2 separate regions of the Homo sapiens genome follow, and region 2 is linked to region 1. The links are contacts of gene promoters, found by promoter capture Hi-C in human tissues and cell types (Jung and others, 2019). All regions are on one chromosome and are shown on one strand. The core of a region is centred on a gene start or on the middle of the fragment in contact, and the rest is flanking DNA. Distances in the headings are between cores, read along the strand shown.

The links. The method cuts DNA at HindIII sites, captures the fragments that hold promoters and counts their contacts. A contact is called where the count stands out against the background at its distance.
Region 2: a contact is called between a fragment that was not itself captured here and the fragment with the promoter of ERVW-1 in region 1, in 1 of the 25 tissues and cell types used here (aorta).

Annotation. Positions count from the first base shown.
Region 1 is chr7:92,475,764-92,480,685 of GRCh38, reverse strand. It overlaps ERVW-1 (endogenous retrovirus group W member 1, envelope), which reads left to right and starts at 2,740. Exons shown (of 2, transcript NM_001130925.2): 1 at 2,740-3,304. It also overlaps a transcript of GATAD1 not described here. RefSeq lists enhancers at 2,427-2,458, 2,056-2,486, 2,376-2,520, 2,498-3,417, 3,555-4,056 and 1 more, cis regulatory regions at 2,056-2,364, 2,365-2,426 and promoters at 2,451-2,811, 2,518-2,850. The HindIII fragment of the contact is 19,432 bases long and covers 1-4,922 here.
Region 2 is chr7:92,511,927-92,516,848 of GRCh38, reverse strand. PEX1 (peroxisomal biogenesis factor 1) reads left to right here. Exons shown (of 24, transcript NM_000466.3): 6 at 2,882-3,001. Among named protein-coding and RNA genes, the nearest start is that of PEX1, 14 kb to the left of the region's middle. The HindIII fragment of the contact is 6,462 bases long and covers 1-4,922 here.

The DNA of each region.
Region 1 (4,922 bases), core at 1,491-3,990:
TCCCACCTACTCCCCCATTGAAACTTCCGCCTATCAATCTCTTCTCACACAAGGCAAATGGTTCTTAGACCAAGGAAAATATCTCCTTCCAGCCTCACAGGCCCATTCTATTCTGTCATCATTTCATAACCTCTTCCATGTAGGTTACAAGCCACTAGTCCACCTCTTAGAACCTCTCATTTCCTTCCATCGTGGAAACATATCCTCAAGGAAATCACTTCTCAGTGTTCCATCTGCTATTCTACTACCCCTCAGGGATTGTTCAGGCCCCCTCCCCTCCCTACACATCAAGCTCGGGGATTTGCCCCTGCCCAGGACTGGCAAATTGACTTTACTCACATGCCCTGAGTCAGGAAACTAAAATACCTCTTGGTCTGGGTAGACACTGTCACTGGATGGGTAGAGGCCTTTCCCACAGGGTCTGAGAAGGCCACTGCAGTCATTTCTTCCCTTCTGTCAGACATAATTCCTTGGGTTGGCCTTCCCACCTCTATACAGTCCAATAACGGAGCAGCCTTTATTAGTCAAATCACCTGAGCAGTTTTTCAGGCTCTTGGTATTCAGTGGAACCTTCGTACCCCTTACTGTCCTCAATCTTCAGGAAAGGTAGAATGGACTAATGGTCTTTTAAAAACACACCCCACCAAACTCAGCCTCCAACTTAAAAAGGAGGATAGAGCCCAAAAACTCGCAACCAAGCTAGTAATTATGCTGAACCCCCTTGGGCACTCTCTAATTGGATGTCTTAGGTCCTCCCAAATCTTAGTCCTTTAATATCTGTTTTTCTCCTTCTCTTATTCGGACCTTGTGTCTTCCGTTTAGTTTTTCAATTCATACAAAACCGCATCCAGGCCATCACCAATCGTTCTATACAATAAATGCTCCTTCTAACAACCCCACAATATCGCCCCTTACCACAAAATCTTCCTTCAGCTTAATCTCTCCCACTCTAGGTTCCCATGCCGCCCATAATCCCTCTCGAAGCAGCCCTGAGAAACATAGCCCATTATCTCTCCATACCACCCCCAAAATTTTTGCTGCCCCAACACTTCAACACTATTTTACATTATTTTTCTTATTAATATAAGAAGACAGCAATGTCAGGCCTCTGAGCCCAAGCCATCATATCCCCTGTGACCTGCACATATACATCCAGATGGCCTGAAGTAACTGAAGAATCACAAAAGAAGTGAAAATGGCCTGTTCCTGCCTTAACCGATGACATTCCACCACTGTGATTTGTTCCTGCCCCACCTTAACTGAGCAATTAACCTTGGGAAATTCCTTCTCCTGGCTCAAAACCTCCCCCACTGAGCACCTTGTGACCCCTGCCCCTCCACTACCCACCCAAATCCTATAAAATGGCCCCACCCCATCTCCCTTAGCTGACTCCTTTTTTGGACTCAGCCCGCCTGCACCCAGGTGAAATAAACAGCCTTGTTGCTCACACAAAGCCTGTTTGGTGGACTCTCTTCACAGGGACGGGGGTGACAACAACACGGACACACATGGAGTGGTTTTAAGGAGCAGAGAGTTTAATACGCAAAAAAGAAGGAAGAGGCTCCCCTGTACAGACACAGAGGGAGGGGGCTCCAAGCCGAGAGAAGGAAACCCCATGTGCAGTGGAAAAGTGGTTGATTATACTGGGAGGCTGGAGGAGGCGGTGTCTGATTTGCACAGGGCCCAGGGGATTGGGTTGACCAGGTGTATCATTCATGTACCCCGCAAAAAACCTGGCCCTCCCACCTCAGCCCTTTAATATGCAAATGTGGGTTGCCATGATGTTCTGAAAACACATGAATTATCTGGAGGGGGCCATGACACTTGGTACATGTGCTGACAAGAAGAGGGTGGGAATCGCCATGGTGGCCATGTTGGGTGGACCTAGTTTTTAATAGCCTGCATTTGCATATCAAAGTTTGCTGGCCTGGCTCTTTAAGCTGTCTTTTCTGTTAGAAAAGGAATGGTTTGGAATGGGTGAGGGTTGCTTCTTATTACAAGAAAATTTCCAAAAACCTTTACTCTTTCTAGCTGCCAAAAAACTATTTCTTAATAACTTATGTATTACCATAATTAGGCAGCACCAAAGATCCCTGCAGGTCAGACCACTGCAATTAACATGCTGGCTTTACTGCTGATTATGGTAGCTGCATCCACCTAGCCTCTCATATTGCAACTGCCTGACCTCTGCCACCCCACGAGCCACTTATCCCCACTTATAATCAGCCCATTTCGATTGTAACATCTGCCACTTATTCCCGACGTTGTGGTATATCCTATAGATGAATTCATTCAACATCCATTCCAACACCACCTCTCTTGCCTTCCTATACTCTCTGGAGAGTGAATTACTGAGTCACATGATCTTCACTGCAGTCATTTGTGGCTATGTGACATAGTTCTGGACAGTGAACATAGACAGAAGTCCCTGGGGCGGGCTTCCTTTCTGGGATGAGGGCAAAACGCCTGGAGATACAGCAATTATCTTGCAACTGAGAGACAGGACTAGCTGGATTTCCTAGGCCGACTAAGAATCCCTAAGCCTAGCTGGGAAGGTGACCACGTCCACCTTTAAACACGGGGCTTGCAACTTAGCTCACACCTGACCAATCAGAGAGCTCACTAAAATGCTAATTAGGCAAAGACAGGAGGTAAAGAAATAGCCAATCATCTATTGCCTGAGAGCACAGCAGGAGGGACAACAATCGGGATATAAACCCAGGCATTCGAGCTGGCAACAGCAGCCCCCCTTTGGGTCCCTTCCCTTTGTATGGGAGCTGTTTTCATGCTATTTCACTCTATTAAATCTTGCAACTGCACTCTTCTGGTCCATGTTTCTTACGGCTCGAGCTGAGCTTTTGCTCACCGTCCACCACTGCTGTTTGCCACCACCGCAGACCTGCCGCTGACTCCCATCCCTCTGGATCCTGCAGGGTGTCCGCTGTGCTCCTGATCCAGCGAGGCGCCCATTGCCGCTCCCAATTGGGCTAAAGGCTTGCCATTGTTCCTGCACGGCTAAGTGCCTGGGTTTGTTCTAATTGAGCTGAACACTAGTCACTGGGTTCCATGGTTCTCTTCTGTGACCCACGGCTTCTAATAGAACTATAACACTTACCACATGGCCCAAGATTCCATTCCTTGGAATCCGTGAGGCCAAGAACTCCAGGTCAGAGAATACGAGGCTTGCCACCATCTTGGAAGCGGCCTGCTACCATCTTGGAAGTGGTTCACCACCATCTTGGGAGCTCTGTGAGCAAGGACCCCCCGGTAACATTTTGGCAACCACGAACGGACATCCAAAGTGGTGAGTAATATTGGACCACTTTCACTTGCTATTCTGTCCTATCCTTCCTTAGAATTGGAGGAAAATACCGGGCACTTGTCGGCCAGTTAAAAACGATTAGTGTGGCCACCGGACTTAAGACTCAGGTGTGAGGCTATCTGGGGAAGGGCTTTCTAACAACCCCCAACCCTTCTGGGTTGGGGACTTGGTTTGCCTCAAGCCAGCTTCCACTTTCAGTTTTCTTGGGGAAGCCGAGGGCCGACTAGAGGCAGAAAGCTGTCGTCCTGAACTCCCGGCAGTAGCCGGTTGAGATCATGGTGTAGCCAGAAGTCTCAACAGTCGCCCATGCATGCACCCCTATCTTTCCTTCTGACCCATACCTCCTGGGTCCCAACCACAACTTTCTTCAAAGTGTAGCCCCAAAATTCTCCTTACCTCTGAATATACTTCCTCTGATCCCTGCCTCCTAGGTACTATTGGTTCAGACTTCCATTTCCTCTAGCAAGTTGTATCTCCAAAGGGATCTAAGGAAGCTCTGCGCTGCGTCCTTAGGCACCTAGGCTATAACCCAGGGAGTCTTATCCCTGGTGTCCCTCCCAATTTAGGCATACAGCTCTTGACATGGGCAGTTATGTAGGACCCACTCCCCACCACCCTTGCCAGGGCCCCAAGTTTGTAAATGGCTGAGGGAAAAGAGAGACAGAGGAGAGAGAGAGAAATGGAGGAGAAAGAGAGAGAGACAGAGAGGAGAGAGAGACAGTGAGAGAGACAGAAGAGAGAGAGAGACAAAGAGGAGAGAGAGAGAGTCAAAGAGAGAAAGAAAGAGAAAGAAATAGTAAAAAACAGTGTGCCCTATTCCTTTAAAAGCCAGGGTAAATTTAAAACCTGTACTTGATAATTGAAGGTCTTCTCTGTGACCCTATAGCACTCCAATCCACTTTGTGGTCAGTGTAAATAAGAGCATAGGCCGAAAGCACTGAGGCCATTGACAACCCGTAGCTTCCCTATCAAAAATCCTTAACCCAGTAACCCGCAGATGGACCAAATGCATTCAGTCGGTAGCGCAACTGCTTTGCTAAAAGTAGAAAAGTAACTTTTAGAGGAAACCTCATTGTGAGCACACCTCACCTGTTCAGAATTATTCTAATAAAAAAAGCAAAAAGGTAGCTTACTAACTCAAAAATCTTAAAGTATGGGGCTATTCTGTTAGAAAAAGGTAATGTAACTCCAACCACTGATAATTCCCTTAACCCAGCAGATTTCCTAACGGGATTTAAATCTTAATTACCATACAAAGGTCCGACCAGACCTAGGCGGAACTCCCTTCAGGACAGGACGATAGATGGTTCCTCCCAGGTGATTGAGGAAAAAAACCACAATGGGTATTCAGTAATTGATACGGGGACTCTTGTGGAAGCAGAGTTAGAAAAATTGCCTAATAACTGGTCTCCTCAAACGTGTGAGCTGTTTGCACTCAGCCAAGCCTTAAAGTACTTACAGAATCAAAAGACTATCTCAATCCTGATTCAAAAGGTTAGCTACACCCTCTCTGTAATGCATTTGCATAAGAACTTGTTTATGGGAATGCATCTTGATGGGGCAGCTGGGTTGTTATAAAATAGGAACCCAGCCCAGCTCT
Region 2 (4,922 bases), core at 835-3,334, 37 kb before region 1:
AGATCCATGGCATGAGGTAACCTTCCTGCTGCATGTGGTGGCACCTGGATTGGAATGCATCCAGGAGCTGCTTACCCTGCCGGTGTCTGCTCTTTAATTTGTGTATAACGGAGAGGAAGTAGACAGGGCAACTAGTGCTCCAGCCCCTCATCCTGGCCACAAATATTAATGCTACCTTTATATGACATAAGTCACTAGTCCATTTATTGGAACCTAAATTTGAACCACTGTAAAGTAAGACTTCATAGTGATAAAGAGAGGAACTTGTTAGGAAAGAGAATAAAATAGAAAGAGAAGGTTGTCTCCTTTTGTAGATTTTTTTTTTTTCTCCAACAGTTTTACCTGTGACCTTTATACAAATAACTGACAAAGCATTAATCTCTTTGGCCTACATCATTTTCTTTTCTATTTTTTTTTTCCACAAGATGGAGTTTCACTCTTCTTGCCCAAGCTGGAGTGCAGTGGCATGATCTGGCTCACTGCAACCTCCGCCTCCCACGTTCAAGTGGTTCTCCTGCCTCAGCCTCCTGAGTAGCTGGGACTACAGGCATGCACCACCACGCCTGGCTAATTTTTTGTATTTTTAGTAGAAACTGGGTTTCACCATGTTAGCCAGCCTGGTCTGGAACTCCTGACCTCAGGTGATCTGCCTGCCTCGGCCTCCCAAAGTGCTGGGATTACAGGCATGAGCCACTGCTCCTGGCCGGCCTACATCATTTTCTAAAGCTCCAGACCATTCTTTTCTTTTCTTTTCTTTTCTTTTCTTTTCTTTTCTTTTCTTTTCTTTTCTTTTTTCTCTTCTCTTCTCTTCTCTTCTCTTCTCTTCTCTTCTCTTCTCTTTTCTTTTCTTTTTTTGAGTTAGAAGCTTGCTTTGTTGCCCAGGCTGGAGTGCAGTGGCACCACCTCCACTCACTACAACCTCCACCTCCCAGGTTCAAATGATTCTCCTGCCTCAGCCTTCAGAGTAGCTGGGACTACAAGTGTGCGCCACCACTCCTGGCTAATTTTTGTATTTTTAGTAGGGACGAGGTTTCACCATGTTGGCCAGGCTAGTCTTGAACTCCTGGTCTCAAGTGATCCGCCTGCCTCAGTCTCCCAAGGTGCTGGGATTACAGGCGTGAGCCACTGTGCCTGGCCTCAGATCATTATTTTCTGTTAGCTTTAAACTGTCCGTTCAGGAGATCCCACTGCATCCTCAAATTCAAAATATCTAACACTGAGCTTATGATTTAGCTGGTTCTGTCATTAGATGGGAATATCCTTTTATTTCCTTGAAATTATATGGTGAGAACAGGGAGAAGTGCTGATGGTAAAGTCCTGTGATTAAGATAGCAATAAGGACTCCGCCCTTCCCACTCCACTGAAGGTTGAAGAGCCATGGACAATGAGAAGTCACAGTAGGTGAAATCAGGTACTAAAATGGACTTGGCTTGAGAGATCAAAATTGATCACTTGGTGATACAACTAACAAATTCATGTTAACTTGAACCTTTATTACCCTGTGAAGCATGGTGATTAAAAAAAAACAACAAACAAACAGGAAACTTGATTGTTAAATTCTCTTTAAGTCAGAATATGTACCTTAGAGTTTTTATTTATGCTTTTGTCTACCATTAATATGTCTGCACCTGCTCTTTAGAAGTTAATAGAGAGTAAAGTCGTCTTTATGTCTTTCAGTGCTTACTTATATTTGGGAAGTTGAGAAAAATTTTTAACATCATTATTGATATATATATATATATATATATATATATATATATATATATATATATATATATATAGATAATTTTTTTTTTTTTCTTGAGACGGAGTCTCACTCTGTCGCCCAGGCCGGAGTGTGGTGGCGATCTCCACTCAATGCAAGCTCTGCCTCCCAGGTTCAAGCGATTCTCTTGCCTCAGCCTCCCGAGTAGCTAGGATACAGGCTCCCACCACCACGCCTGGCTAATTTTTGTAGTTTTAGTAGAGACGAGGTTTCACCATATTGGCCACGCTGGTCTCAAACTCCTGACCTTGTGATCCGCCCACCTCGGCCTCCCAAAGTGCTGGGATTACAGGCGTGAGCCACTGCGCCCGGCTGAGGTAAAATTTAAAGTGTACAATTCAGTCATTTTTAGTATATTTATACTAGTTGTACAGCCATCACCACAATCTAAGTTTAGAACATTTTCATTAGGGGGTGGGAGAAATTTTACTCTGCTTTTTAGATTAAGTTTCTGTCTGGATCTAATCATTTAATCAGACAATCAGGCAGATTGTCTGTGATTAGTTTTGGCCATTCCAGCTTCTTCATTGGTTGTTAACTTTCACAAATAAAGGCTGCTCAAAGATTAGAAATAACATTTAATTTGAATGTAAATGTGCCATAGTTTAAAAGATGGGTTTGGTGAATACAGTCAAATACATACATTTAAAGCTCTAATTCTGAAGATTATGTAAAGAAAAGGAAAGAAATGTAGGGAGAGGATTGAAATGTTCATGGTATAACAATATCTGAACATCCATCTGGTCACACCGTTGGTATTTGAATGTTTTGTCCTCCTCAAATTCATATGTCGAAATCCCAACTCCCAAGGTGATCGTATTAGGAGGTGTGGTCTTTGGGAAGTGATTAGGTCATGAAGGTGAAGCCTTCATGAATGGGATTCGTGCTCTTATAAAAGAGAACTGTGAGAAATAAGTTTCTGTCGTTTGTTAGCCACCCAGTTTAGGATATTTTGATATAGCAGCCTGCATGGACTGAGACAACTATGAGTTATTATGATAGCTTCTGTTATTTCACCTAAATTCATAGAAGCTAATATATCAATATTTATGCTATGAAATATTTCTTAACCAAGCTTTGAATATATTTATATTTTTGTTTATTTTTAAATTTCAGATTCCAGATGACCTGAGGAAGAGACTAAATATAGAAATGCATGCCGTAGTCAGGATAACTCCAGTGGAAGTTACCCCTAAAATTCCAAGATCTCTAAAGTTACAACCTAGAGAGAATTTAGTGAGTTCAAATATATATGTTACATCAAAATTCTTTTACACGTTTTGTAAGATTTCTAGTTGCTTTAGCTAAGTAATAAGAATGTTGTATTCCTTTTTGATACAAATCTTTTTTTATTGTGTTAAACTATATATAACATAAAATATGCCATGTTCGCCATTTTTAAGTGTATAATTCAAAGGCATTAATTACATTCATAATATTGTACAACCATCACCACTATCTATATCCAGAACTTTTCCATCACCCCAAAGAGAAACTTGGTACCCATTAAACAATAATTCCCCGTCCACTCCTTTCCCCAGTCCCTGGTAATCTCTAATGTATATTGTGTCTCTATGAATTTACTTATTCTAGATATTTCATATATAAGTAGAAGTATGCATTTGTCTTATGTATCTGACTTATTTCATTTAACATAATGTTTTCAAGGCTCATCTGTGTTGTATGTATCAGAATGTTATTCCTTTTCATGGCTGAATACTATTCCATTGACTGCATATACCACATTTGTTTATCCATTCATCTGTTGATGGACACTTGGGTTGTTTCCACATTTTTGGCTGCTGTGAATAATGCTACAGTGAACATTGGTGTACAAGTATCTGTTTGAGTTCCTCTTTTCAGCTCCTTTGGGATATACCTAGGAATTATGTTTAACTTTTTGAGAAGCTGAGAAATCTTTAATAAATGATAACACAAATACTTATATTTGCCAATGCAAATATGAATATTTTTGGCTTTTAAGAGATTGATCATTTTGCCACGTGGTTGTAATTAAAAAAAATTGTCCCATGTTGTTTCAGTATTAATATTGTAGCCTAAAAGAGTGCTAGACTGTTTTACTTTTTACTCAGTTAATTCTTTGGATACTGGTAGAGTCAGGAAATGAGATATTGAACTTAAAGATCTTTGCAGGTGGGGTCCAGTGGCTCACACCTGTAATCCTAGCACTTTGGGAAGCTGAGGTGGGAGGATTGCTTGAGGCCAAGAGTTTGAGAATAGCCTGGGCAACATAGCAAGACCCCATCTCTACAAAAAAATTAAAAAAAAAATTAAGCCAGGCGTGGTAGCTCACGCCTGTTATCCCAACACTTCGGGAGGCTGAGATGGGTGGATCACTTGAGGTCAGGAGTTGGAGACCAGCCTGGCCAACATGGTGAAACCCCATCTCTACTAAAAATACCAAAATTATCGGGGCGTGGTGCTAATCCTGTAATCTCAGCTACTCAGGAGGCTGAGGCAGGAGAACCACTTGAACTGAGGAGGTGGAAGTTGCAGTGAGCCTAGATCTCACCACTGCACTCCAGCCTGGGTAACAGAGCGAGACTCTATTTCAAAAAAAGTAAAAATAAAAATTAGACACATGTGGTGGCACATGCCTGTAGTCCTAGCTACTCAGGAGGCTGACTGAAGTGGGAGGATCTCTTGAGCCCAGGAGTTCCACACTGCAGTGAGCTATGATTGTGCCACTGCACTCCAGCCTAGGCAATATCTCAAAAAAAATTTTTTTAAATAGATTATTAGGCCAGACGTGGTGGCTCATGCCAGTAATCCCAGCACTTTGGAAGGCCAAGGCAGGCGGATCACCTGAGGCCAGGAGTTTGAGACCAGCCTGGCCAACATGGTGAAACCCCATGTCTACCAAAAATACAAAAATTAGCTGCAATGTCTATAATCCCAGCTACTTGGGAGCCTGAGGCAAGCGAATCGCTTGAACCCGGGAGGCAGAGGTTGCAGTGAGTGGAGACTGCGCCACTGCACTCCAGCCTGGGCGATACAGCGAGATTCTGTCTCAAAGAAAAAGGAATTTGTTTTCCTGTCTTTATCGTAGAGGGAGGAAAGGGAGAATGGGGTTGGAATGGTTATTGAGTGAGCCACATTATGGTAGATGTATCACTGGGCATAGAGAAAAGGAGCA